Regions from separate parts of the Homo sapiens genome. Here all the other regions are linked to region 3. Evidence: promoter capture Hi-C in 16 types of primary human blood cells and fetal thymus (Javierre and others, 2016). All regions are on one chromosome and are shown on one strand. Each heading gives the region's core, a stretch centred on a gene start or on the middle of the fragment in contact. The rest is flanking DNA. Distances are from core to core; before and after follow the strand shown. Region 1 holds the start of CPNE9 (copine family member 9). Region 2 overlaps ATP2B2 (ATPase plasma membrane Ca2+ transporting 2). Region 3 holds the start of FANCD2 (FA complementation group D2).

Evidence for each region. Contacts are between HindIII fragments. The CHiCAGO score rates a contact against its expected background, and 5 or more counts as called.
Region 1: a contact is called between the fragment with the promoter of CPNE9 here and the fragment with the promoter of FANCD2 in region 3, in 2 of 17 cell types (monocytes and total CD8 T cells). The highest score is 6.7, in monocytes.
Region 2: a fragment that was not itself captured here is called in contact with the fragment with the promoter of FANCD2 in region 3 in 2 of 17 cell types (activated CD4 T cells and fetal thymus); the score reaches 6.1 in activated CD4 T cells.

Annotation. Positions count from the first base shown.
Region 1 is chr3:9,701,969-9,705,654 of GRCh38, reverse strand. It overlaps CPNE9 (copine family member 9), which reads right to left and starts at 1,822. Exons shown (of 21, transcript NM_153635.3): 1 at 1,591-1,822; 2 at 1,028-1,068; 3 at 860-906; 4 at 661-764; 5 at 155-191. The coding sequence starts at 1,658. It overlaps MTMR14 (myotubularin related protein 14), which reads right to left. Exons shown (of 19, transcript NM_001077525.3): 19 at 3,262-3,686. The coding sequence ends at 3,682. RefSeq lists an enhancer at 1,273-2,183. The HindIII fragment of the contact is 18,760 bases long and covers 1-2,539 here.
Region 2 is chr3:10,326,618-10,330,563 of GRCh38, reverse strand. It overlaps ATP2B2 (ATPase plasma membrane Ca2+ transporting 2), which reads left to right. Exons shown (of 23, transcript NM_001001331.4): 23 at 1,439-3,946. The coding sequence ends at 1,750. MIR378B (microRNA 378b) reads right to left here and starts at 335; the gene lies at 279-335. RefSeq lists an enhancer at 1,732-2,280. The HindIII fragment of the contact is 4,701 bases long and covers 1-3,946 here.
Region 3 is chr3:10,024,161-10,028,334 of GRCh38, reverse strand. FANCD2 (FA complementation group D2) reads right to left here and starts at 1,898. Exons shown (of 44, transcript NM_001018115.3): 1 at 1,862-1,898. It also overlaps the pseudogene CIDECP1. RefSeq lists enhancers at 1,165-1,799, 1,800-2,435, 3,071-3,707. The HindIII fragment of the contact is 7,543 bases long and covers 1-3,714 here.

The DNA.
Region 1 (3,686 bases), core at 573-3,072, 320 kb after region 3:
ACACTCAGGCAGGAGGAGAGGGACCAGGAGGGTGGGTTGGGGGCCTGAAGAAGATGGGGTCTGGGTCGAGGGTTGGGAGGAGTTCTGAGAGTCGTTGAACACATCTAAGTGCCTCCTGTGCGCTCCGCCAACCCTCGAGGAAACGTTTGCTCACCGGTTTGGAGATGTTGGTTTTGGAGTCCACGTTGTACCTGGGAAAAGAGTGGAACCGGTGTGGGGTGGGGCTGGGTGGGGGAGAGGGTGGAAAGGGGTCGGGCACCGAGTCTTGGTGAAAATTTTGGGTGGAGGGATGGGCGGCCGTGGACCCGAATTCAGCTTTGGTCTCCTTTTGGGGAGGAGTCAGGGTGGGCTGAGTAGTCAGACGGTCAAGCCTGGGCCGAGGCCAAGTCAGGGGCTGCTGGGGGCAGGGTTGTGTGGAAGGGGTCGGGCCTGAGGTGGAGCTGCGATAGGAGCAGAGTTGTGGGCGGGGCCAGAGCGGGGGACGGAACTGGACCGCATCTCATAAAAGGGCAGGGCTCAGGCTAGAGGGGGCCATTCAGAATGGGAGGGAGGCCTGCGAGAAGAACCAGGCCGGAGGCGAGGCGGGGGTGGGGCCAGCCAGAATTCCGGGCGGATCCAGGTCGGGGGCGGGCCAAGCCAGAATTCCAGGCGGGGCCTCACACATCGAAGCGCAGATTTTGCTTTTCCTCAAAGAAATAGTCGAGGACGAATTTGCGCACGAAGTCTGGGTTCAGCGTGTTATCAATCACCTCGGTCCGTCCGAACTGGGTAGGGGGGTGGAGGGTCAGCGTGGGACGTGCAGACGGGCAGGGGAATTCCCGGGCGACGCCCTGGGCCGGGAGGGGGCTCTGGGACTCACCTCCCGCCACTCCTGGCTGGCCCGGCTCTGCGTGTAAAGCACCACCACTGCAGGTGGGGGCGGGGAGGGAAGGACGTCAGGTCGGCTCCCACCCCTGGCCCCGACTCCACCCGCCCCTGAGTCGCGCCCAGACCCCAAGTTCCCCCTCCCGGTCCTGGAGCCGCCTACTGGGGTCGGACTTGGAGAAGGTATCAAGGTCTAGCAGGTTCCTAGAGAAAAGCAACAGACAGACAGAGTGGATCATCCTGGAGTCCGCCCGCCTCGAGTCGGCTCTGAGCCGGGCACTGAGGAGAGGCATGGGGCCCGCATCGAACCTCTGTCCCCCATGGCTACCCCCAGCCGGGGTCCGCTCTGTCAGCACTCTGGACAGCACCGGAAATCGCTGTCCAGGAACCATGGCTCTGCGGACTGGACGCGAACGCACCCACACTGTCTCCAAGGGCCCAGGAAAGAGGGCTCGCCCCAGAACTTTGTCCTCCTGGGGCCGAGCTCCTACCGGATATCTGCGACCCACCCCCTGAACCCGCAGGCTGAGCCCTTTTTTCGGGGTGGGGCTGCCCAAGACCCCCCGCTTCTCGATCCCACCAGCTACTCGCCCTGTCATCAGCTGTGATTTTCCAGCCAATTTCGCCTCTCCCCGGGGGTCTAGCCCCTGCCCAGGCTGAGCCCCGCGGCTGGCTGGGGCTGGGGCAGTGCCAGTGCCTAAGCCCTCCCCAGCGCGGCCCGCTCACCGGCAGGACACGGTAATTTCAATCTTGGTGGCCGGGACGCTGCGCTCGGAGGCTCCGCCGAGAGACATGGCTGGTCGGGCGACCAGAGCCGCAGGAGGCTGCGAGACCAGGGCTGCTGGGGCTAGGGGCGACGGCAGCGGCGGGGCCGGCCCATGTGCCGCGGTGTCGGCGGCGGCGGCGGCTGCACTCGCTCCAGCCCTGCGTGCGCTCCAGCCGCTCGCGCCCTGACAGTGGCCGCCGGCGGCAGCGGCTCCAGATGGCAGCACAGCCCCGCCCGGCCCTGCGGGCGGCCCCCGCCCCATTGGAGCAGCCTGGAGCCAGCGGGGAACCTCACCCCGACTCCCAACTCCAACCCACACCTTGGTAGAGTCTGCCCTGCGCAAGTCTCTGGGGTGGAAACCCAAGCCCCCTAGAGTTGTCCATGATGCTGAAACATTTGGGGCACCTGGTGGGCACTGGAATTGTTGCCTCTTACTGAGCCACTCCCTTAGTGTTTCTGTCTTTTCCCACTCCCAGCCTGCCTAGGTCTCTGAATAGGAAAAGTACATCTCTTAGTAGCTGTGTGACCTTGGACAAGTTACTCAACATCTCTGTGGCTCAACCGTGAAAGGCCGTCAGAAAGGCCTTTAACAGCAGCTACTTTAGGTGCTGTAAAATTTTACTGAGATAACCCAAGGAAAACACTTAGCACACAGCAAGTGCTCAGTAAACATTCACTGGTATTTATGATTTGTCCTCTGGGTATTCACAATGATGACAGTAAATGGTGGCTGTTGAGCACCGTGCAAAGCTGTCTGCCCATGCCTTTAACCCTCACGACTTTCATGGCGTTACAGATGCGGACACACTCTCATGACGCAATCTACTGTAGGTTACACTGTAGAAGAGGGTGGTGGTCAGCCAGGCTCTCACCCACCACACATGCACACCAATTGCTATCTCCAAAGCTTCAGAAGCCAGTCCTTCCTCCATAGGCAGGGCTCAAGGTAGGGGATGCAGGTCACCCGTACCAGGACCCTGCTGCCTACAGAACTTGTTAAAGATGAAGATCCTGGTCAGGTACGGTGGCTCATGCCTGTAATCCCAGCACTTTAGGAGGCCAAGGCAGGCAGATCACTTGAGCTCAGGAGTTTGAGACTGGCCTGGCCAACATGGTGAAACCCCATCTCTACTAAATACAAAAATTAGCTGGGGATGGTGGCACGTTCACGTAGCTACTCAGGAGACTGAGGCAGGAGGATCGCTTGAACCCAGGAGGCAGGGGTTGCAGTGAGCCAAGATTGTGCCATTGCACTCCAGCTTGGGTAACAGTGAGACTCCATCTCAAAAAATCTGAAAAAAATGAAGATCCTCCAGCTCCTAATTCCCAGGCAACTTCCTTAGCAACCCTAAGGCTAAAGCTCAGGCAGCCCTGGGAATGTGCACAGCTCATCAGGCTCTCTAGGTGACTAGGACCTGCTTAGGCCCGAGAACCACTACTCTCAACAGTCTTGAGTGTTGTCCCCACTGCAGGGACTACCATGGCTCATGAGTGGAGAGGTATACCTGTCGCCAGTTCTCTTCCTGTTTCACCTGCCCTCCACATAAAAACCCCTTGTCCAGCACAAGGAAGGACAATGAGAACCTTCCTAGTAGCTCCACAAAGACAATAACCAAATGATGACACAAGAGTGGCTATTCAAAAAGACTTTGATTTTATTTTGTGATCTGTGTCAAACTGCCTCATTCTCAGTGCAGGTGATCCCTCCTCCCCAGAAACAAGAACTGACAGGTAGGGTCTTTGTGAAGTCATGGCTTCCACAAGGCCCCAGGGAAACCCCACACAGTTCTGAGAGTTGATGGGAATCCCAGCAAAGATGGGGTGGGTGGGAGACAGTGACAAGAAGGGGTGGTGGTCACCAGTCAAGAGGCTGGGGGTTGGAAAACCCTGTCTTTGGCCTTGCTCAGCTTTGGGGCTGCCATGTTCATGATGGAGATGGGGGACTGAAATTTCCCCTGACCTGGAAGTACCCCTTCGGCCAGGCATGGCTTTGATTCTCTGCTAAGGGCTCAGCTGAGAGAGGAGCAGGAAAATGTCATGGGCTGGCTTCTTCACA
Region 2 (3,946 bases), core at 748-3,247, 300 kb before region 3:
CTGGAGGCGCCAACGCCGCCTTGTTTTCTCCACCTCTGACTCCACTCCGAGTTGGGGCTGGGACGAGAGGAGGAGGCACCTTTGTCCCAAGTCCCATCAGACTCTTGAGATGACAGGCACTGCTGCCCCTCCCAGGAGTCCAGAGAAGGGACACCTCTCTTCCAAGTGAGGGTCCCGTCCCTCTGCACCCTGTGAGGCAGGACAGAGGACAACCAGAGAGCTAGTGTGGCTTGTCCACAGTCAAGGCACCAGATGTGGCAGAGCCAGGATGCAAGTTGGGTCTTTCTGCCTCCAAGTCCAGTGCTCTTTCCACTAGCCTTGAAGACTCAATGACCAGCCTCCTCCCATTCTTCAGCGGAGGAAACTGAGGCCCCAGGACGTGTGGTTCACAACTGAGACAGAAAATGAAAGAACTTGCTGTTTTGTGACTCAGTTCCACACACCCCAGAATCCCACTGGGGCTGGGTTTGGCCATCTGATTCCAGCCTCGTTTTTTGGTTTTGTGTTTTCAAAGCACAAATAAAGAAATAAACAAAATCCCCCAGGAAATAAGAGACCCCAAAGCAAGCTCCAATAACTGGCCGGCCAGGGCTTTGAGTCTATACTCGAGTGTTTACCTCCCAAATGCATGAAGGAAAGAAACGCTGGGTACAAACGACCTCCGTTCACATTGTCCAGGCTTCCAAGTGTAGCCGTGTGTCTGTCTGTGTGTGCCATGTGGCTCCCGGCCTCCCCGTGGCATGCAGCCCGCCCCCGAATGTCATCTGTCCGCCAGCTCCCATGTGCTTTCTGGCTGCCTCTGCTCTGCACCTCAGAAAGCCCTGGGTTGGCTTTGGTTTGCTTTGCTGCCTTTGGTTTGATGTTCCCGTTCTGTTTGGCCCTCATGTGTCTCTCTCATCCCAACTCATCCAACCGTCTCTCCTTTCTGTGCCTTTTCTGTTTGTGACACGTAACATGTTCCATGTTGTATGGTTTCTTAACTGTGTGTGGTTTTCCTAAGATGAATTTTTTTAATAGCCTCTCCTCTTTCCTACTTGATTCCCACCTGGTCCTCCTCCCTGTCTGCATGGTTGAACCTCTGCTTTAAAGTGAACAAGGCTCAGTCTCTCACTAGGTGTGGGTGCCCGCAGGAGTCGACTGTGCTTCCTTTAACCACTGTTCCCCATCATCTCTTTGATGGTGCTTGGTGATTCCTCCTGTCCTAACACTAGTTTCTACCAAAACCAAAGAGATTTTTAAAAACCAGCTCAAGGATGCCTATAACCTGAGCCCCCTTTTTCACTCTCCCCCATCCTGTCAATGCTAATAACACCCAGCGACTATGGATTCCAGCCACCTGCTTTGCCCTAACCCTTCTCCCACCCGCCCCTCCTGTGAGCCCCCCGAGCCTGGCTGTGGTCCCTGGGCAGTGCTCCTGACCCCTGTGCTTCCCTTGCAGATCCGCGTCGTGAAGGCGTTCCGTAGCTCTCTCTATGAAGGTTTAGAAAAGCCTGAATCTCGAACCTCCATCCATAACTTCATGGCTCATCCTGAATTCCGGATCGAAGATTCCCAGCCCCACATCCCCCTCATTGATGACACCGACCTGGAAGAAGATGCCGCGCTCAAGCAGAACTCGAGCCCGCCGTCATCCCTCAACAAGAACAACAGCGCCATCGACAGTGGGATCAACCTGACGACCGACACAAGCAAATCAGCTACCTCTTCAAGTCCAGGGAGCCCCATCCACAGCCTGGAGACGTCGCTTTAGCTGAGGACCCTCTCGCCTGCCCGCCCGCCCTCATGGACCCCGCTGCCACCCGCTTTCCGGGCACCCATCCATCCAGGCACCCAACTCACCCAAGCAGCAACGAGCAACAATCGGAAACCAAATACTGGAGAGAAAACCAACGTTTCCACCCACAGACCCTTTCTCTGGCTGCGATGCTGTTTGAACTCTTTTTCACTTCAAGGCAAGGGGCGGGATCTCCACTGGGGGCTTACGGGAGTGAGCGGTTTTCCCAAAACAAGCCCTTCCTGGCTCCCACCCAGACATGGACCAGCCATGCACCCGCCCAGCCACCACGTCCCCCGCATGAATGTACTGTACACTTTCAATCCTCCCCTTGTTTGGTTTTTGGGGGTTGGGGAGGGGTTTTTGTTTGTTTGTTTGTTTTCTTAGGCGGGAACTGCAAACAGACTCTTTTCTGAGACTATTTATCCAATCCACTGGTCTGTGAGTTTTTGAAATGCTTGCACAGCATGGTCTCAGTTGTATAGATTAATTTAATAACTTTTTGAAATTGCAGAGCTTAACTCGCCTAGTAGATTTGCACCAATGGAACCGAAGAACTTCATAGACACTCACAAGGTTATATCCATTTCTTTGTATCTATATCAACGTATACTTTTCCGAGACTGTATACGTCCATATAGATAGGTAGATATATATATATATATATAAATATATATACATGGATATATAAAGTTTCTTTGCCGGCATGTTGCCTTGTTTCCGCTTAAATTGCTCTATTTTAACTTATTTATGTCCTAAAAGAAGAATGTAATTTGTTTACAAACCTGTAGATAACGTCTTTGGCTATTTGTATGGTTTAAGAACACTGGTGGCTGAGATGCTATAAAAACAGCTCGGCCCAACAGACACTTCCCCTGGGTTGCATCCTGGATGTTTTATGATAGCCATGCTCTGATTTTTGCCTGCTATTTCCGTTCAATAATGTCACTACCGTGAGAGGCTCAGGCAGAAGCCAAATGCTACCGAGTTGCCATCCTGAGGGGTTTAACAACATGCTCCGTAGACGAAGGGAGAGGAGGAGAGAAGGCTTCCTGGGTTTGCAACACTAACGGCCATCCGGCCCAAGGATGCCAGGATCTGCAAAGCACTGCTCGAAGACTTTTCTCTCAATGAAACTCGCTTGAGTTTACTAAGAGCATTTCAAAAATAGGTTCTCTTTGGCACTGTCTGTACAGAGATTGAGGTAGTGTTGAAATATTATAAATGGTATTGTGTTGATTTTTTTTTTTATTTAGTAACTTACAGGTTTGTTTCCTTATTAATGGCAGCATCTGAGCTGTTGGCATATTGGATGAGGATCAGTATGGCTTGCTGCTTTTATTTTTATTTTTGAAGAAGAATAGCCTTTTTCTCTGCACTATTTAGATCCGAATGAACCTTATGATGTGTATATTGAGATGTACTCAGTGTGATTTTAAACCAAATTGTCTTCCTGTAGTCACAATATATACTGTAGCCTTTTAACAGCAAGTCTTGCTTTCCCAAACAGAAAGCCATTCTGAAACCCTACAGTATCACAGGTGAGAAAAGGTGGTTATTTTTTCCCCAAGACAACAGCACTAGTAATCCCACTTAATAAGAGCTTATTTAATTGGATGTCAGCCTCTTAACTGCTAAGCACTTTGTGGGTCTCAGCGTTTTTCATAAAAGAACTTTTGTATTTAATACAAAGTTTGCTTTGAGACTTTTCAGCATATGATCTTTTTTCCATAAACTTGTACAGTGCAAAAGACATTTTGAATACCATGATCGATGATGTCCCATGCTTCGAGGAAAACCAAACACTTTCCGCCTCTCTTGCAAAATCCATTCCTCATGCTGACCCTCCTCACGATGGCTGTGTCAGCCCAGCCCCTTCCCTTCTCCAGGCCCAGAGAACTCTTCCACAAACAAGATGAGAGCCACTCGGGAAAAGAGCCATAGTCAACTGGGAGGGCCTACATCTGGATGGCGGTGGAAAAACTTGAGGGTTTGGGGTTCAAAGTCAGCCCATCCCACCTGGCAAAATCCTCCTGGAAGGAGGACCTTCAAGAGCGCATCACCTGAATGTCGTGAAGAAGTATCTCTGAATGTATCCAGGAGAGGAACTGCATAACCAAAGGGGTGACCAGCCCTCAGATGTGCTTATTGGATTCCAGTACAAACGCCACC
Region 3 (4,174 bases), core at 649-3,148:
ACCTGTCCTTTAATTCATGATTTCAATACTATATGTTAGGGACTGTGCTAGGTGCTGGGGTTACAACTGTGAACTAGACAGACATGATCCCTGTCCTCAGGGAATTTACAGTATGGTAACAAATAGCCTTAATGTACTGAACTACAGTTATGTAAGTGCTATAAAAGTACAGGTTCTATGAGGGCTTACTAGGAAATTTAGTCTAGTTGCTAGTAAGGGTGGTAAAGAGAAGCAAGGACCATTTCTTAGGGACAATCTCCTTGAATTTTTTTTTTTTTTTTTTTAGTAGAGACAGGGTTTCACCATGTCGGCTAGGCTGGTCTCAAACTCCTGACCTCAAGTGATCCACCCACCTCGGCCTCCCAAAGTGCTGGGATTACAGGTGTGAGCCGCCCGGCCTAAAGAAGTGATTTTTTTTTTTTTTTTTTTTGAGACGGAGTCTCACTCTGTCACCCAGGCTGGAGTGCAGTGGTGCAGCCTCGGCTCACTGCAAGCTCCACCTCCCGGGTTCACACCATTCTCCTGCCTCAGCTTCCCAAGTAGCTGGGACTACAGGCGCCCGCCACCACGCCCGGCTAATTTTTTGTATTTTTAGTAGAGACGGGGTTTCACCGTGTTACCCAGGATAGTCTTGATCTCATAACCTCATAATCCGCCCGCCTCGGACTCCCAAAGTGCTGGGATTACAGGCGTGAGCCAACCGCGCCCGGCCTGAAGAAGTGATTTTTAGGCAGGGACTTGAGGGCTGAAACAGCAGTTAGCCAGTAGAAGGGGTAGGAGAAGAGGAGTCCAGGCAAATAGATACTCATACTGAAACAAGGAGATGTGGAGTTAGAAATCAGACAGCAGAGGTGGGGGAAGTGCCTGAATCACATGACCTTTTAATCTTGTAAATCAGAACCTTCGTGGTCTCAGTGCCTTTGCACAAAGGTGTTCTTTTCATCTGAAGTGCTCTTATTTGCCTGGAAATTCCTACTCAGATCTAAACATTCAATCGAATGTCATCTTCCTTGAAAAGTGTTCCTCCTATCCCTAAGGGAGTTTGCTACTGCAGCTTCCCTGCTCCACAGGGTATACCTAGGGGCCCTTACCTCACACTAGACTGGGGCTCTTTGAGAGCAGGAACCCAGTCTCACTTACTCAATGTCCCTAATGCCCAGCATAGTTACCGGCATAAGGAAAATTTCTGAGAATATTCAGAGTGAAAAAAGCTCGCAGTGCAGGGGAAATGCTAAAAGCTAACAAGAACTGTTTCAAGTGCTTTATATTTAATAATTCATTTATTTCCCACAAAACTTTTTGAGGTGGGTACCATTATTCTCATCATCACGGGCAGAACTGGGATTCTAACTCGGAGTCTGGCTTCAGCACCTGCGCTCTTCACCACCTATACTTACTCTTGATGATTATAATGACTTCTAATAATGGTTAACATTTACGAGGTACCGGGCCCTGTGCTAAACTTTTTATTTATCGCCGCTTCGGTTAATACGGATAACCATTATCAGCCATCTTGCAGATGGAAAAACTAAGTCTTGTCAGCACGTCCGGCTTCCAGGCACCCGCCTTTAACACGTGCGATACCATCTGGCTTCCAGAAAAGCCCAACAGAAGTGAGATGAGGCCGACTGCCTGGATTAGTTCATCGGGAAGCGGGTGAGGGTAAAAGCCTTTCTCGTTTCCGCATTTTAATGACGCAGAAAGGTACCTGTGGGGATTATCCCATCTCAGGGCAGATGAGGAAGCCAAGGTTCGGGGCGCGGAGCCCCAGAGGAGAACGCCGACCGCGGCCCGGACTTAGAGATTAGGCCGCAGGGGAGCGGGGCCTCGAGAGACTACGACCATTGCTCCACTTACTCACCGAGAAGCCGTCGCCGCCCGTAGTTTTCGACTTTCCCGCCAGGCCCGACGCCGCTCTGACGCCACCGAGGCGCGCCATGACGTGACGCCAACTTCCGCGCCGGAAGTGGAAGGCCGGGCAGCCCAGCTGAAGGCAATAAGCTGGGCTCACCGCTGCAGCAGAGTTCTGTGCTAGCCGGGCATAGGGGCGAGAGAAGGCCCAGAGGCGACGTCAGAGAGAAGCAACTGCGCCCCGGTGAAGAGAAGCTCGCCCATCACCGGCTGGGAGCCAGCTTTCAGTGAAGATGGCAGGGCCAGAACTGTTGCTTGACTCCAACATCTGCCTCTGGGTGGTCCTACCCATCGTTATCACTCTTCGTAGACATGATCCGCCACTACGTGTCCATCCTGCTGGAGAGCGACAAGAAGCTCACCCAGGAACAAGTATCTGACAGGTCAGCGCCCTCCCTTCCCCAGCCTACCTCACACCGCCGTGACCTTGGACAAGAAAGTGCAGGCGTTGTGTCAGTTTGCCTAGGTTCACGTCTCGCCCCCACTGGCAAGGTGACCTTACCCGTTACCTCTGTGTTTCACTTTTGTCCTCTGTGAAATGGGGATAATAACAGTACCTCCCTCATAGACAGGTGGGAATCAAATTAGATGATGTCTGTAAATCCCTTAGCACAGGATCTAGGACGTATTGAGTGTTAAAAACAAAAAACAAAAACGGTGCTGTTAATCCTTTAGGTTAGTCGCCAACCCTCGGTGGGTTTACCTATGAACTATCCCATCCCACCCTTTCGTTGGGAAGAGTGCCTGGTGCTTTATAGCTTTTAGTATTTGTAACATCCAGTCAAGTGAGTGTGATAATCTGCATTCTACCAAATTACTGTTCCAATGGTTAGCTGAGATGCTAAGCACCAAAGCGCTTTGCAATCTGTAACACTGCTGTTAGACATGTAAGGAATTGTAATTATCATTTCCCTTCCTAGGGTGGAGGCAACTTCCTCACATACTTCATTGCAGTATTTATTTATTTATTTAATTTAACTTAATTTAATTTTTGAGACGGAGTTTCGCTCTTGTTGCACTAGATTAAGTATCTATTATTTTTCCGTTTGCATATTTTATCACTTGAACAGAAACTCTGAGCGCAGGGTCATGACCTTGCCTTACTCTATACCCCATAGCATGCAGCAGAGTGCAAGGCACATGGTAGGCCATCAAAAAACTTGTTCACAGCCAGGCGTGGTGGCTCTCACCTGTAATCTCAATACTTTGGGAGGCTGAGGTGGGAGGATCGCTTGAGCCCTGGAGTTCAAGACCAGCCTGGGCAACACAATGAGACCACTGTCTCTACAAAAAAATTTAAACATTAGCCAGGTGCAGTGGTGTGTGCCTGTAGTCCCAGCTACTCGGGAGGCTGAGGTGTGAGGATCACTTGAGCCCGGGAGTTCGAGGCTGAAGTGAGCCATGATCGCACCACTGCGATTGCAGCCTCAATCACTGCAGCCTCGACCTTTTTGGTCCAGCCTGGGTGACAAAGCAAGACCCTGTCTCCAGAAAAACAAACGAAAAAACACTTGTTCAGTCTACGATAATTCAAGACTTTTCCAGGCAGTGTAATCAAAAGAAATTCATCTAGCTCTCCTATATTTACGCTGCTGAATAGTTTTGTAGAAATGGAGTTGAATATCATGACCCTGAGGTATTTTAAGACCCTAAATAAGCAATCTTAAATTATCCTGTATTTTCTAAACACTCAATATCTGTGTTATCTGAAGTTTGCAAATTCCGCAAGAAATTTTTAATTTTGTATTTTTATTTTTGTGAATATCTAAAAATAAGTCCTTGTACTGTTATAAAGATAAAGCTTTGTAATTTGTAACTGAAAGACATCTATTTATTTTTGGCAGAGACAGGGTCTCACTATGTTGCCCAGTTGGTCTCAAATTCCTGGGCTCAAGGGATCCTCCCATCTCAGCCTCCCAAAGTGCTGGGATTATAAGTGTGAGCCACTGTACCAGGCCTAAATGACATTGTCTTAGAATAAAACTTTAAACTCGGTACCTCTCAAACCAGAGTTCCATATTCTTAAGAATCTATGTCTTCTCCTTTCCAAAAAGTCAGTAGTATATTCTTCAAGTTCGAGAACCATTTTTTACACACATTCTATCCCCAAACCTAGTCTAATATATTTTATTCATGTATTTTTCAGCTTTGGTTTAATACCTGTCAGAATTTTTTTTTTTTTTTTTTTGAAACATTGTCTTGCTCTGTTGCCCAGGCTGAAGCTGGGGAATAAGGTCAGTGATGCTTCTGCCATCCCTATGGA